Linked DNA regions of Homo sapiens: all the other regions are linked to region 4. The links are contacts of gene promoters, found by promoter capture Hi-C in human tissues and cell types (Jung and others, 2019). All regions are on one chromosome and are shown on one strand. The core of a region is centred on a gene start or on the middle of the fragment in contact, and the rest is flanking DNA. Distances in the headings are between cores, read along the strand shown. Region 1 overlaps MAML2 (mastermind like transcriptional coactivator 2). Region 2 overlaps MAML2 (mastermind like transcriptional coactivator 2). Region 3 overlaps CCDC82 (coiled-coil domain containing 82). Region 4 holds the start of MTMR2 (myotubularin related protein 2).

The links. The method cuts DNA at HindIII sites, captures the fragments that hold promoters and counts their contacts. A contact is called where the count stands out against the background at its distance.
Region 1: a fragment that was not itself captured here is called in contact with the fragment with the promoter of MTMR2 in region 4 in 1 of the 25 tissues and cell types used here (bladder).
Region 2: a contact is called between a fragment that was not itself captured here and the fragment with the promoter of MTMR2 in region 4, in 2 of the 25 tissues and cell types used here (aorta and mesenchymal stem cells).
Region 3: a fragment that was not itself captured here is called in contact with the fragment with the promoter of MTMR2 in region 4 in 2 of the 25 tissues and cell types used here (heart right ventricle and hippocampus).

The regions. Positions count from the first base shown.
Region 1 is chr11:96,218,192-96,222,118 of GRCh38, reverse strand. All of the region lies in intron 1 of MAML2 (mastermind like transcriptional coactivator 2), which reads left to right. Among named protein-coding and RNA genes, the nearest start is that of MIR1260B, 120 kb to the left of the region's middle. The HindIII fragment of the contact is 4,299 bases long and covers 1-3,927 here.
Region 2 is chr11:96,277,823-96,282,060 of GRCh38, reverse strand. The region is part of intron 1 of MAML2 (mastermind like transcriptional coactivator 2); the gene reads left to right. Among named protein-coding and RNA genes, the nearest start is that of MIR1260B, 61 kb to the left of the region's middle. RefSeq lists an enhancer at 2,280-2,339. The HindIII fragment of the contact is 6,915 bases long and covers 1-4,238 here.
Region 3 is chr11:96,371,055-96,374,944 of GRCh38, reverse strand. CCDC82 (coiled-coil domain containing 82) reads left to right here. Exons shown (of 10, transcript NM_024725.4): 6 at 1,478-1,570; 7 at 3,808-3,890. Among named protein-coding and RNA genes, the nearest start is that of CCDC82, 17 kb to the left of the region's middle. The HindIII fragment of the contact is 3,940 bases long and covers 514-3,890 here.
Region 4 is chr11:95,922,481-95,926,401 of GRCh38, reverse strand. MTMR2 (myotubularin related protein 2) reads left to right here and starts at 2,295. Exons shown (of 15, transcript NM_016156.6): 1 at 2,295-2,527. The coding sequence starts at 2,448. RefSeq lists enhancers at 2,078-2,207, 2,268-2,317. The HindIII fragment of the contact is 5,565 bases long and covers 1-2,760 here.

The sequences.
Region 1 (3,927 bases), core at 870-3,369, 300 kb before region 4:
GAAGAGAGGCTGCCAGCCTGAAGACTTACCTGGAAACATTTTCTCGTTGGTCTGGTTTTAATAAAATCACCAGATTCCACTAGAAGGAAACCAAAGATTACAAAGGTCCAAATTAATATATGACAAAGTAGAAACGGAAACTGGGAGGAAATGAGGTGAAACACAGGGGATGATGTATTGGAAATAGGGAATGAAAACCGTACAGAGTAGAAACACCTGAAAGCAGTTCTGGAAACTCCACATGCTCCTGCTGTACCAAGACCTGGTCCTATGTGTGCTGACCTTGTTCTTCTGCTCACATCTGCCACATCTGCAAATGTGGCAACATTTTAGCTGTTTTCTATTAACACTGAAGTACTCTGAGAGCTTGGAAATTTTCAAGTGCAAAATCAGGTCCAGAGAACAGTAAAAAAAAAAAAAAAAAAAAAAGCTTGACTGAACTGCCACTCACATCTTCCCTATACTGTGCAGAAGCAAAGAGCTCAATACTGATTTTGGTTTTGTGGTTGAAGGCAACTGCTATGAAACTTCTTAAGTGGTTCATAGTTGTCCATATTTTATCCTTATGATTGAAACAATATTTCCTGCTTTCCCCAGAGTAATAATTTTAAAGGTGGGGTCTCTAACCTCGGGTATAGCCTGGCCTCCACAGTGTTACACTGTTCCCAAAATGACAGGGGATACAAAACAGATGGGTCACACTGCAGGCTGCAGAAGTGGGATTTTGTTCCTGAAGACAAACCCCACACTACAGGAAAGGCCCAGCGCTATCTCTGAGTCTTGATAGGTTTGGAATGACTTTAAAGTTATTAATCAAGAAGTGAATAGGTGGAAACTTGGGAACATGTCCTTCTCTGTGGTTAACAGTGGGAACAGCAAGGCTAATTGCTTTAAGTCTAAATAATCAGAAGCTGTAAACTCTGTCACCCAAACTTCCAGTTTATGTCACTGGCTTTCTGGAGGCTGCATTACAGTGTTGTGGTGGTGAAATTATTATTAATTAATGACCATAGTATTAATAACACTATATACTGTGAACTTATTTTATAGTAATACATCTCCTCAGTGCTCAATAAATACTTGTTGAATAAATACTTTCTCATTAGTTGGTTCAACAAATGCCCATTGAATACCTGTTATGAAAAAGGCACTGGGTACTGATCCAAAAATGAATTTGTTTTAGCCAGAGTCTTCCAAGAGATTAGAGTTTTACAGATATTATCCTGATGAATGAACAACCCAGAAAGGCATCCTCCTTTCAGTTTGATGATGCTTTTTTTTTCACTTTTTATATAAAAGATTTTGAATTTGCTATTTTGAAAAATCCAGTAGAGGTTTCAGAGGATGTATTTGAAACTTGTATTTTTTTAAATCTATGTCTGACTGTTAAGGAAATTGTACTTTTTTCCAAGTTACTCTATTACCTATAATACAACCAGAAATAAAATGTTAAAAACTCAAGCTCATGCATACCCAAGGATGACAAAAAAAATTCTGCATGTATAAGAACACTTTACATTGCATTTTGTAACAACTTGCAAAGAAGATAAATAATATGTATGACTCCAGATTGCAGTAAACAGACTCCCACTTAGCTTAGCTTTTAAGTTATGCAACTTCCTCACTGATGACTTAGAAAAAAATAAAGAGGCAGCAAATAGTCAATAAAGAGTAAGGCAGGAAGCATGTGCTGACTCTGAGTCCCAGGAGGGCTCACCATGTCCGGTGCCACTAGGGAAACAAATCTCTAAGGCAGTTGAAATTTTCCTGCTTCTCACATAATCCCAAGCAGAGCACAAGGCAGTGGCTTAAATCTGCAGGTTTAAAGGAGCACAGAGAAAGAGAAATAAGAGAATGAAATCTGTACCCTAAGAGAGTGAAGGAGGGTCACTCATTTGTTTACAGGCAGTGTTCCCCCACCCCCTTCTCTAGACAGCAAGGAATTTGGAGCCTCTGTCAACTCTCAGGCAAAGATCCTTTGATCAATTCACGTAGGGCCTGATAACGCATGGACACTGTGGGAGATTAAAAGAAGATAGTAATATTAATATAAAGATCATGGCAATGATAACAACATGCCACCATTTAGTGTCTTTGTGTTTCCCAAGAGTTAACACTATACATGCATCAACTCATTTAATACAACATGATGAAATAGTCTCATTTTACTGAGGGATTAAAAATAATAAACTGATGGCTGAGTATGTTGGCTCACACCTGTAATCTCAGCACTTTGGGAGGCCGAGGTGGGCAGATCACAAGGTCAGGAGTTCGAGACCAGCCTGACCAACATGATGAAACCCCATCTCTACTAAACATACAAAAATTAGCTGGGTATCGTGGCAGGTATCTGTAATCCCAAATGCTCAGGAGGCTGAGGCATGAGAACCACTTGAACCCAGGAGGGTGGAGTTGCAGTGAGCCGAGCTTGTGCCACTGCACTCCAGCCTACATGACAGAGTGAGACCCTGTCTCAAAATAATAATAATAATGAACTGAGACTCAGAAAAGATGTTTGTTCAGGGTTACAAAGCTCAGACAGGACAGGGCAGCATTGGAAACCAAAATTGGTCTGACTCCTAGGCTCATGCTGTAAATCACGGTGCAAGGCTTCTACTATCTATGTTTTTCCTAAAAGAATGTATAAATGAAAAGATGGTTAACATATTAAGCAAAATATGTTAAACGTCAAATGAACTGTATAAACGATAAATGCTGGAGAGTTGAGGTGGCAAAGAACTCATGCCCGAGGTGATCTGGGAAGGCCTCTTGAACAAGGTGGAATTATAGCTGGTTTTTGAAGAATCCGAAAGTGCTTAGATTGAAAGGTGAGACATGTACAGGAATGGTTTCTAAGATGTCATATTTTATCTCTGTCCTCATCTTGACTGGCACTAATGAACATCAAAGATTTCAACCTAAATACATTGAGTGCCCAGTATGTGAAGGGCCTTATTTATGTTGTTTTAAAGCTTTTTAACATACTTTAAAGAAGGGACTGGTTAATCTCCACTGTCTAGATCCATTAGACCCGGAGCCGGATGGCCCCAGGGGCCTTTGGGAATGGCGTGGTGGGACAGTCTCCACTTTTGCACATACCCAAGAAAAGAATGGTCCTTTGGGAATTTTGCAGACCTACAATCTGGAGATAATGTACTTCTGATCATAATTCAAGTGCCCCCAGATATAGGGTTGCCAGATTTAGCAAATAAAAATATAAAATGCTCAGTTAAATTTGAATTTCAGATAAACAATGAATTATCTTTCAGTACAAGTATGTTTCAAATATTCCATGGGACATACTTATAACTTTTAAAAACTTATTTGTTATTTATCTGAAATTCAAATTTGACTGGGCTTTTACATTTTATTTGGCAACCTACCCAGTCAGGAATTGGAGGGAAAATTTTGAGATTTGAATTTTTTGGCATACATAAATACTCTTCTATGTGAAGACCTCAAATAAACTAAAAAACAAAAAGAAAAAGTGTCAGTATTATACATTCCCATAAAATATGCTCCATTTTAAAATGAGACCAATGGGGCAGGAAGTTACCTCACAAAAGTAATTTTGTGGAAATAATATAAAAATCTCTGAGTTTTTATACTTTATTTATTCAAGAAATTCTGGCCTTAAAATAGTAGTCAGTTGACCCAAGTAAGTCACTTGCTCTGCATCAAGATAAAAATGCATTTCATGCTGTGTACGCTGAGGATAAAAAAAGACATGCTGAAAACTGGATTTCCAAGTAGTGCCCCTATTAAAGATGACAATTAAGTGGGGTTCACCGAGGATGCATGGTGCCTTAGGATTGAATTATAAGAATGATGATTGTTTTTGGAGTTGGAGTCAAATATCAGCCTTTAAACCAAGTCAAAGCCAGGGTTACAGCTGCGTTACAGCTGCCTTCTGTCACTGACACTGCT
Region 2 (4,238 bases), core at 1,093-3,592, 360 kb before region 4:
AGCCAGGATAGTCTCAATCTCCTGACCTCGTGATCCGCCTGCCTCGGCCTCCCAAAGTGCTGGGATTACAGGCATGAGCCACCGCGCCTGGCCTACAGTCATTATTTTTCAAGTTCTGATTTATTTGTGATGGTAGTTTGTTTGCTCAGTAGATCAGGTCTTTTTTGTTTTTGTTGTTTTTTGTTTTGTTTTGAGACAGGTCTTGCTCTGCCACCCACGCTGGAGTACAGTGGCACAATCAGAGCCCACTGTAGCTTTGACCTCCCTGGCTCCAGTGATCCTCCCACTTCTGCCTCCTGAGTAGCTGGGATTACAGGTGCATGCTGCCACATCCAGCAAATTTTTAATTTTTTTGTAGAGGTGGGATTTTGCCATGTTGCCCATACTGATCAGTAAGTCTTAAACTGGTGATCCCCTCTACTTCATTGCAAAACTCATTGATATCCCCAAAAATCAAAGGCATATTTTAATATTTCTCAAAACCAGGGCTGCTAACTCAGCTGACAAACAGGGAAAAAAACTATTATTCCTTTTCCCTCAACCAGTGCCTCCCACTACCCTGCCCAGACCCCAGGGATTCCTGGGCAGATACCACTGTGGGCTACCCTAGCCAGCCTTTTGCAGCCCCATTCCTGCTTGCTTCCCCACACCTCCCCAGCCAGAGCAGACCTGGACCCCAACAGAAATATTCACCCCTAGCGGCAACACTAGCACTCTCTTGGACAAATGTTTAGTGATCTATCCATCACCTGCCACCAGACCCCACTTCCCTTCCATCAGTGGCTATTCTCTGTTGACTGACTCTTCCCTGGAATCACCTTCACATGGTGATTTGTGGGAATTACAGCTCCCATGTTCTTCTGGGTTGTTAAATATTTTGAATATTACCCCCATACATACACTTTTTATGATAATCAGCTTGAATGTTCAGTCTTTTGATACATTTTAAAAGAAAATTCTTAAGTACACATGATTTGAAAACTTGCAAATAATGCATTAATTTGCATTTTAATATTAATGATGCTTAATGTACTCACTACATTGGAAAATACTGTTACAAGTTTTATTAGTTCATTCATCTGAGAGTTAAACTGATATACATATACATTGTTCTTACTTTGTATCAAAGATATGCAAAATACTTGAGTACAGAAGTAATGATGAAGTACCTACCCCTCTGGGAGCTTATAGCTTAAAATGGGATATATATGAGATAAATGAGAAAGGTTTATACCACAGAATAACATTATGTAAATCAATTTAACCAAATAACAACACCAGAGGGAAAGGACTTTTAGCTACCACTCATCATTATGTCCCAATATAATGTTCCAGTTCATGTTGCAAATAGGGCAGCACCCTGGCTATTGTGTGGTAGTCTGTAAGTAGTGAAATAGCTGTGGGGTAAGGCAGTGAGTCTTTCACCTTAGGGAGGGTGCGAGCCCAGACCCACTTGACCATCTATCACAAATCTTGCTGAAGTTCTAAGATCCCTTTCAACTACAAATTTTCATGCTTCCATAGAATCATCCCTGACCTCAGGAAAAAATACAAAAATGGAACAAACAAAACAGAATAGTAAAACCTGAAGTAAGAAAAAAAGAAATGAATTTGACATTGTACAGATCAGGAGAAAGAAAGTTCATTAACAGTTTCAAGATCCCTGCGTTTTCACCCAGCAGGAAACAAATTACCATGAGTTAAGGTGGGGAAATTACTGGCAATTCATTGCCTTCTTTTAAAGACTTTAAAAAAAAATGAGTAAATAATTTTAGACTATTACCCCCTTTCCATGAGAGATACACAGCTAGTTAAACTGCCATGCATATTAATTTTTTGTTTTCATTTTATTCCACCTACCAACTACACAGTGTCTGCTTTCCAAAATTAGTTTGAAAGCCAATGACCTGTGTTTGAACTGGGTGAAATAGCATAGCAGTTCACACCTGGAATAAAAGAATGATTGTGTGTGAGTCTGTTAATGGCTGTGTAGAGCTATATCTCTATATGGAGCTATATAAAAATATATTTTATACATGCCAGATTCATTTAGACTTGAATTGACCCTGTGGTAAAGCAGCAGGAATAAAATATTTTTTTGATAAAGCACTCACTCAAATAGAGAAATGAGCTCTTGCAGTTACCATTTAATCTGTGACTTCTTTTTGAGATGCAGAAAAACTCCATTATAAAGTGCTCAGTTCATCCAGGGACACAGACACACTGTGGGTTATAACACACCCTCATCTGCATGGTGAGGTACATGAGTCAGCTGCTCTTCTCTCAGGAGGGTGGCTTTAAAGCTCCACAGTCATGCATGCTGCCAATTCCAGATTGTCCAAACCTGTAGGTTAGCAAGGACACAGGTGAGCCATAGGTATGACATGTTCATAAAAAGAAAAATATATTTTAATACAAAACATGTCAGGGGAGTGGAGAGTGTCAAATTGAGGACAGGAGAGACCTAGATTCAATGCCATAGTTCTTGGCTAATCTCTGAGAAGCTTGTTAGTCACCCTCTTTCTCCTTCCCTTACTCTCCTGTATCTTCCCTTACATACTGCATAGTCCCTTGTAATTTACAAGACATAAAATACTTCCTTTGTTCATCTGTATACTGAATGTAAGAATGAACAAAAGGTCATCATAAGGACAGCCTGTGAGTTTATGCACTGCATACTGCAAATGACCCACTCCAGCAATGGGAAGACACCCCTAACATTGCTTCTCTCCTTATAACGAAAATATTATTCATCATCAGCTTTAAAATGGATCTTCTCACTCTGTGCAGTCTCCGTGGTAACGTCCCATAAGCCCAGGGTTTTAAGACCTTTCTCCTGTGCTCTAAGCCTACATATCTAACTGCCTAATGGCCTTTCCACTTGAATGACACATCATTCAGTTTCAGTGTCCTAAACTGAAGTTTCAACTCCAAGTCTGTTTTTTTCTCTTGTAGTCTTCATGTCAGTCAATCAGTCTTTTATCCTAACCAGAAATATGTGAGTTCTCATGGATTCCTCCCTCTCACTCACTTTTCAGTTCTATAATCACCCAGTTCCTACATTGTTTGCATCTTAAATATCTCTTCTAGTCCTCCCTTCTCCTTTATACCCACTGCCACTGCCACAATGTTAGCTCCTTCAGATCTCATATTTTCTCACTTTTATTGCTATAGACATACCCCCCGCAGTTATCCTACCTCTAGGCAAATCCCTTCCAAAATGCAGCTGCCAGTGTGATCTTTGTAAAATGCTTTTATGATAAAGTTCAAACTCATTAGCAAAGCACACAAAGACCTTTGTGATGTGGTATTGCTGAATTAAACTACTGGCAGCCCTAGAAAGGTAAAGTGTATTTGATGCTTCTGTGCTGTTCCCTTAGCCCAGAAAGCCCTTCCAGTTTCTGTTTAGTAAAGTCCTATTCATCTTTCACTACTCAATGAGTCATAAGTAATCCCATTAGGAAAGCCTGTGTGATCTACCTCCTCCCTAATTTGCCAGCTTGAGTTTGCTTCACCCCTTCATAATACTCAGTCAATCATAATGTCTTATAATCCATCATAGCACCTCACACAATGAACTCCAATGTCTGGTTTGTTGGGATGTCCGCCTTACTACATTGTAAGCTTCTTAAGGGTAGAAACCAGTTCTGATAGGCTTAGGGCAGTGACCACCAACAGAAAAAGTACTTGGTAAATGTCTAACACAATCTGTTTTACTTTTTCCAGAGCACGAGGCATGCATGAAAGAGATTAATTTACTCCACATGGGAAGTTACTACCCAGGCTTACCAAAAGGTCAGGTTTATATAAAGTGGCGTTCCTTTTTTTCCCCCTTAGTAAGACATTAAAAAAAGAAACCACAATTGAAAAGCCAAGAGCTATCTGTGATACGGAATATGAACACAGAATCAGATTCTCATAGCAGCTAAGCTGTTCCCCAGGCAGTGGTTCTCAAGGTGTGCTTCCAAGAACAGCAGCAGCAGCGGCATCACACATGCAAATTACTGGACTCTGCCCCAGATCCACAGAATTGGAGACTGGGGATGGGGCTTAGCATTCTGTTTTAACAAGTCCTCCAGATGATTCTGTTGTGTATCTAGCTTGAGAATCACTGCCCTGGAGAATGGAAAAAAAAAAAAAAAAGTTCCCACAGAAGGGTTTTAGCAGTTCTAGAGCACCTACTATGTGCCAGGCCATTTATTTTGTTTACCTTATTAACTTTTTCAGGATACTAAATT
Region 3 (3,890 bases), core at 1,234-3,733, 450 kb before region 4:
ACTTATTTATTTAGAAATTTTTAATAAGATTCACTAGTGGCAATGTAAATAAATTACAATCCAAAATGAAATTAGACAAATCTATCTAATAAATAAATTCATAACCATTATTACTTGCTTATAACATATCTGGCAGAGATGTTTAAAATGTCAACAATATTAATTTTTTGAGGGTGGAGAGTAGGAGGAGGGAGAGAAGCAGAAAAGATAACTATTGGGTACTGGGTCTAATTCCTGGGTGATGAAATAATCAGTACAACAGACCCTTATGACATGAGTTTACCTGTGTAACAAAATGAAGTATTATTTCATTTTTCAATTATGCCGTACTGATTTTTAAGAAAATATTATATTCATTAAAGGCCATGATTATTGCCTTTGATCATAGGCCATCTAAAGGCTAATGGCCAAATGATCTGCTATTGTCATTTATTTTTAGTATTACTTTATTTTTGTCTCTTTAGCACTTCTATAGGTGTCTCCTTAGAAAAGAATGCATACTAAAATGTACCCTAAAGTCTGAAAGAGAGTTATACAGCCCTTTGAGTAACTAAAATATAAATGAAGAGGGTTTTCCATGTTGAATCCCATCTTTCTTTTTACTTCAAGTGGAAGGAGAGTCAAAATCTATCCATGGTTGCTAATGATAGGTCTTATTTTGCTTTAATCCCTTGTCAGACATCTTCTATATTTCTCGAAATACTCAGTCTGCCCTTAATATGTCTTCACAGGTGCCCTGAGCAGGGCATGTATTCTACAGTGACTGTTGGATCAAGGAATGGGTCGTGGTTGATAGAGAACATTTCCACAGTCATAGTAAACTCTGATCCAAAAGTAATGAGAATAGTAGGAATCTTCTCTCTTAACCACTGCCTGGCCTGTCACAACAGATGATGTCATGTGTGAGATTTGGTTAGCGAGGAAGTGGGCTTAAATATGTGGTATGGGGAAGGAAATAGACAAGTTTTCTAAATTGATGTAGAAAATCCTAAATCTGGGGCAGCATGAAAAGGGAAATGAAGTTTTTGTAGCCATTGGGGTTCTGGCTAAGATAGCAGTTCCCTGGACAATTTCATATGTAACGCGTTTTACAGAATAAGACATATTAATCTGTCTTTGGAGGTTTTCTCTCTTGTTCTGTCACTCTAAGTGTCAAATTGATAATTAAATATAGGTGTGCAAGGGATAATTTTTATTTTTTAAACTTATTTTAATATTCTCTGAACAGTTTTCTTAAGTTTGGGAAGTAAAGATTTGAAATTACAAGTAGACACTTTGGATTGGAAGCCAGTAAGTTTGGAAAATGGAGATTTGCTCCGTGACTAAACAAGTCATCGAGGAAGCTATAAAATTAGGATGATTAAGCTGTTTGTGCTATCTATAGTTTTAATTTCTTAGCAGTGGAGAATGGAACCTATTGTATTCAAGAAATTATTTTGTCTGCTCTGTTCTAATATTTATTTGAAATTAATTTCAGATTCTTTTAGTGACCACTATACTCATTTTGAAAGAGTTGTGAAGGCTCTTCTGATCAACGCTTTAGATGAATCTTTTCTGGGAACATTATATGGTAAGTTAATACTATGAATGAAACAATTGGTTTTTATTTCTTTTTCCAATTTTAAAACAACCTCACTTTTAAAACTATGTAGATTAAACAAAACCAATGAGGATCATTTGTAAGACCTTCCAATGTTTTCCCTGTAGGATCAACTACATCAAAACTCCATTCATGTAAAATGCTTGTTAGTGTTCATTATCTGAGATATGTGGAAGGTAAGTTTGTGACAGGTCCTTTCCCTTAGGGAGTTAACAGTGAATTTGACAGGATAACACCTAAAACAGCAGAGTGTCTTAATACCCATGTGCCAAACCCAGCCTCTCTGAGCTCTGAATTTCATTAAAAGTTCCATGCTGTTTTCTGCTTTTGTGCCTTTGTCCATGCTGTTTCTTCTTAGAATAGAATCCCTTTTTGTCCCAGATGTTTTAGGTGAGTGTAAAAACATTTGTACTATGAATCTATCTATGACCCATTCACATAATATTTATCATTCTCATTTGTGCCGCCATCATTCTGAGTATGGTAATACTCATAGTACTCATTTATATGCACTTTTCATGTTGTATTGAAAATGTATTTTTGCTTTCTTCCCTTATCATAGTGTGGGAGCAAATTTATAAATATATATATAAATATACGTATATTTATATATTTATATATATAAATATATATGTATATATATATTTTTATATATTTATTTATATTTATATATGTTTATATATATTTATATTTATATATATATTTATATTTATATATATATATCCCCATTTCTCTTGCATCTAGCACAGAATCTGGCATTTAATAGACTATAAATATATTGTGTTGAATAACTAATTGCCAAATAAGATTTCATTTACAATATATTGAACAAATATTTATTGAATGTCTACTATAAGCTAGGCATTATTTGAGGGCTGGGGATGTGACAGTGACTTAAGGCATATTAGATTCCTGCACTCATGTTACTTATAGTCTAATGGGAGAGACAGACAATAAATGAGTAAACAAAATATAATACGATTTCAGTGGTGATTAGTTCTTGCAAAAAAATAAAATAGGGTAAGAAGATTGAGAATAAGGGAAGGTAAAGTTTATGTTATCTGCTAGTTAGATTAGTCAAAAAAGGCCTCTTGGGGTAGCTTTTAAACAGAAACCTGAATGAAGCAAAGGGAGCAAGTAATACGTGGATTACTTGCTTAGCAGAGGGCAAAGGAGGTGCTAAGGCCTTTAGGAAAGAGTAAGTTTGGTGTGTTCAAGAACAACTAGAAGGCCTTTGTGGCTGAAGTGGAATGAGACAGGAGAGAGGGAAAAGAGAGGAGCTCAGAGGAGTAGGCTGAGGACAGAAGGGCTTTGTAAGCTATGGTAAGGTGTTTGAATTTGTGATTATTTAAAGAAACATGATAAATTTATTAGTTAAATTAATTAATAAAACTTCAAATAAGGCAAGAAAATAAAGCTTAAATTCATACGATGACAGATGTATATAGAGAATATACTATGAGCCAAATCAGAAAGGCAGTAATGAGTGTAGCATGCTAAAGAAGAATGAGGAAAACGCCTAGCTAGAAAAGAGTATTCTGATTTGTTGACACAAGGAGTTACCATGGGATCAGTAGAATGGAGTCAATTGTAGACGGCCTTGAAAGCCTATTCAGAAGTTTGAACTTTATCTGGAATTCAGGGGCTAATTCATGTCAGTTTTGTATAAGAGAATAAAAGATAATTTGATAAGCTTTTTCATCTGACTTTTTTTGTTATCAGAAAGTAATGTTAAAGCTTGATGCTTACAAAGGGAACTTTTTGAGACGGAGTCTCACTCTATCACCCAGGCTGGAGTACAGTGGTGCGATCTCAGCTCACTATAAGCTCCCCCTCCCGGGTTCACACCATTCTCCTGCCTCAGCCTCCCGAGTAGCTGGGACTACAGGTGCCCGCTACCACGCCTGGCTAATTTTTTGTATTTTTAGTAGAGATGGGGTTTCACCGTGTTAGCCAGGATGGTCTCGATCTCCTGACCTCGTAATGCACCCACCTCGGCCTCCCAAAGTGCTGGGATTACAGGCATGAGGCACCGTGCCCGGCCTACCCTGTTTTTCCTTAATGTTCTGATGGAATGATTTTTTAAATATTTTTTTTCCTAATTTAAAATGCTTCCAACCAAGTTGGGAAGAAATTTTTAAGTATTAAATAGTTTAAATATTTCTAATTAACAAAATGATTTTTTTTGTTGTTTATCCCCTGAACAGATGGCACAAGGCAAAAATCATATGCAAAAGATATGCTAACATCTCTTCATTATTTGGATAACCGCTTTGTTCAGCCTCGTCTA
Region 4 (3,921 bases), core at 1,046-3,545:
AACTTTATTAATTTATGAGATCTCAATGGTTTTTTGGTGTAGTACCCATACATGAACTGTTGTCAGTCTATGATGAGATCAACGCAATATTGAGAATAAGTGTTTAGGAACTTTCACGAAACTTTCAAGGAGTAATATCTGTTAAATCTAATAAACAATTTGGCCTTGTATTTTGCAAACCTTTTTCTTTAATTTTCCTAGTGCAGTTATCCCTTAGTATCTGCAGGTTATTGGTTTCAGGACCCCCAAGGATAGTAAAAGCTAAAGATGCTCAAGTCTCTTAAATAAAATGGCATTAGTGTCTACATATAACCTATGCATACCCTCCTGTATACTTTAAATCAACTCTAGATTACTTATAATATCTAATACAATGTAAATGTTATGTAAATAGTTGTTATACTGTATTGTCTTCTATTTGTATTATTTTGTTTTTTACAATTTTTACAAATTTTTCAATCTGTGGTTGGTTGAATCTGAGGATATGGAACCAACTGTGATTAATTTTTCTTATATTTTAAAAAAGTTTTGGTTGGTGATGGTTTGAAAATTAAAAACAAAACACTGTTCCTTCTTGCAGATAGTTTGAGAAAAAACAGCCCAGATTATAAATTGAAAAATTAATAACTTTTGGTGAGGTCCCAAGTTAACCATGTTTTTTCATTTTCTTAGAGTTCATTAATTAATTAGAGTTCACTAATTAATTTCCAGCTGATATTCTTTGCTTGTGTTTTCACTCTGAGAAGTTACCATTTTACCAGTCAGGTTAGAAGTCAAGCAGTAAGTTCAGTGGAAAAACAAGTAATAATAAATCTACTTAGTGAGACCGTACTGTGCAACCGACTCTGCACAGAGAAAAACAACCTATTACGTAGATATTTTTATTCCCATTTTATTCCCATTTTAGAGATGTGAAACAACTTAACCACAGCACAGAGCAAGTGTAGAGACAGAACCGGGATTCCGATGAAGATCTGTCTGGTTCCAAAGTCTCTACACTTTTACTACACTGTTCTTTATTAATCACTAGATAGAACCATACACATATTGTTACATCAGGCAGAAGGTTTCGAGGGTTCTATTAACAAAGTGCTACGAATGAACTGGGTGGAAGAAAGTACATAGGTCTCCCATTCAAGGGTTCATCAGCCTTCACTAAGGAAATTTAAGTCAAAGTAGCTGACAGTGAGTCAGCATTTTGGAAGGCAGGTAGAGATGGTGAAGAAATAAGGAAATTCTTCTATGAGTCATGATAGATATTTAAGCTTGTTAAAAAATGTTTTTGACTACCTACTCCCTTTGCCTACAGAGTCCAGTTAAGGTATCTTAAAAATTATGGAAATAAAAACAATCGGTCGCTGTCTGTCCTCGCCAAACTCAAAAAAGGCTAAGCCTTTTGTGCTTAAACACATACTCATCAGTAACTATTCTACCTTACACTGAACATAACTAAGCTAGGTTGTTCTTCTTGGGAATGTACTTGCAAGTTAATACTGCACTGCAACTATAAGGTTTTTTAAAAGACATCAGTTGTACATTATAAATTAAATCTAGTTTAAATCAATATAATTCAATTTATCCTAGCAAGGAAGTTTTTTAAGGATGGTCTGATTTTTTTTTTACAGGAATAATCTTTGCATAATTTTACACCCCATACATGAGATGATTAGGATTCAATCTCAATCAGAAAAATCCCTTTATGGTGTCCTTATGGCTTTCCTGTATCCTAACAGAAAAATCCTAGCAGAAGCATTTCCCCTTTACCCAGTTCCTGTTCTCTTATCACAGTTCTATTCCTCCACACTCCCTTCCTGCTAGGCACGGGAATTTGAAAGGGCAGGGAAAAATCGGTGAAAGTTTGTCTTCTACTTGGGTAATCCAACACCACCGCATCCAGTAGTATATAATTCTTTTTGCATGTATATCAGATCCTCCCCAATCCCTCTCCCATACCTCTTTCTCACTTTTCTCTCATTATCCGGTCCTCTTGTTTTCCTTGACCCCCACATTCCTGTCTAAATCATCCTCCTGGCCTCAGGTCCTTATCGCCTTCCTGAGACCCTCATGTTTAGTGTTCCCTCATTCCTCTTACACCTAGGATTTCTCCTCCTTCCATAAGGGTCTGGTCCTTCATCCCTCCCGCTTCACCAGACCCCCTCACCCTGGGAGCCGCCACCTCCCTTTCCCCAAGACCAGATGTCGCGCGGCCGGACACAGCCAGCACGGAGAGTCGATGCCGGCGTCTGAGCTGCGCAGTGGGGTCTTCCCGCTGCCCAGCAGCCTACAGGCGCGGTGCACTCTGGGGGAACATGGCCGCTTCCGGTCTCCCTCCCGGGCCGGCGCTGGCCTGACTGCGGCCCCGGTCCGTAGCACTCCGCCCTCCGCTTCTCCCGCCCTGTAGCCGCGAAGACTGCTTCAGCCTTTCCCTGTGCTGCCCCTGCCGCGCGATGGAGAAGAGCTCGAGCTGCGAGAGTCTTGGCTCCCAGCCGGCGGCGGCTCGGCCGCCCAGCGTGGACTCCTTGTCCAGGTAACCAGGACGCCCAGGGCCCCGCCCAGCGTCCGAAGGGGATGGAGAGGGGCCGGGGACCTGCTGGATTGTTGCCCCAATTCGCGGATTCTGGTTTCTGAAGGCTACGCCGGAATTCCTTCCCCGGGACTTGGGAACCACTTCTGCCTCCCTCCCTGGGGCGTGGAGGCTGAGGAAAAGGAGGTTAAAACTCGCTGCTTCTTTATCGATTCCTCTACCTTTCATATTCCGATCTCGTTTTCTCCCCGATGGAGGTGGTCCCAGTTAATTACTTTCTCCTGTCTTTCATTCCCTCTCAAACCTTTTTTAAGACAGTTCCCCCCGCCCCCATTCTTTTCCCCACATTTCCTGTCTTTCTCTGTCACTTTTTCCAAAACCATCCTAAAGTCAGTCTTTCCTCCTCCACCCCTTCTTATGTCTTTGGTTTTTGGGTTCTTGCCCAGCCCTTTTCTCTCTTTTCATGGCTTCACCTTCTTAATTTCTTTCATGCTTTTCTCTACACTCTGATTTTCTTCTCGCCTCCCTTTTTGCTTAAATATGTAAATAAAAATGTCTCCTGTGCTTCTCTTTTCTAAATCTTCCAGCTGAAAGTCAGTATCAAGGAATCTGAGTGGTTTTTATCCCCAGTGATAGGTTTAAGAAAACAAAATGAGTGGTAGTTTTCTTCCTTCTTGGGCTACTGGTTCTCCACGTTGTCATTTCTCTTGTAACAGATGGGAATTTTATCCTGGAATTTTGAGGAGGACTTTATGCAGCTTTGCAGAGAGCTTTTATGAATATTAACTAGACGCGTTTTGGATGCAGTCTTTTTCTTTGATTTTAAAATAATGATTTAAAAATTTTTTAAAAAATAATATAAGACCTGTATTTGCTTTTTATGCAGCCACGATGAAATCTGGTTCTTTTCCACTGAATAATAGTCTAATTGTTATTAGAGAGTGATTCGATAACTGCTGTGTGAAAACACACAATTTTCATTTTCTCCTTCAATCAGTTGAAGTGGCTCTATTATAATTCATTTTGGATTCTGCTAAATATGGGTAGTTATTGCCTTTTTTCCTGTTGATGTTCAGCACCTCACTGGGGAACCACTGTCTGATCCCGTCATTCTACATTGCCATATGCACTCATAGCTCCCTGCACAGTCGTTTTTCAGAGTCTTTAATAAGCACACTATAATTGTTGGCTTAAAGTGCCTTTTCTACCAGGTTATAAGCTATTATACTTGAGGGCAATCTTAATCATCTTCATATCTCCAGCACTTAACATAGTCTCAGCATGTGATAGGTGCTCACTAAATGGTTTTTTTTTTTTCGAATTTGTAGCCTGAATTATCCAGGAAAGGAGGATTTTTCTTTGCAGTTTGATTATATATATTGCACGTTTGAATCAAG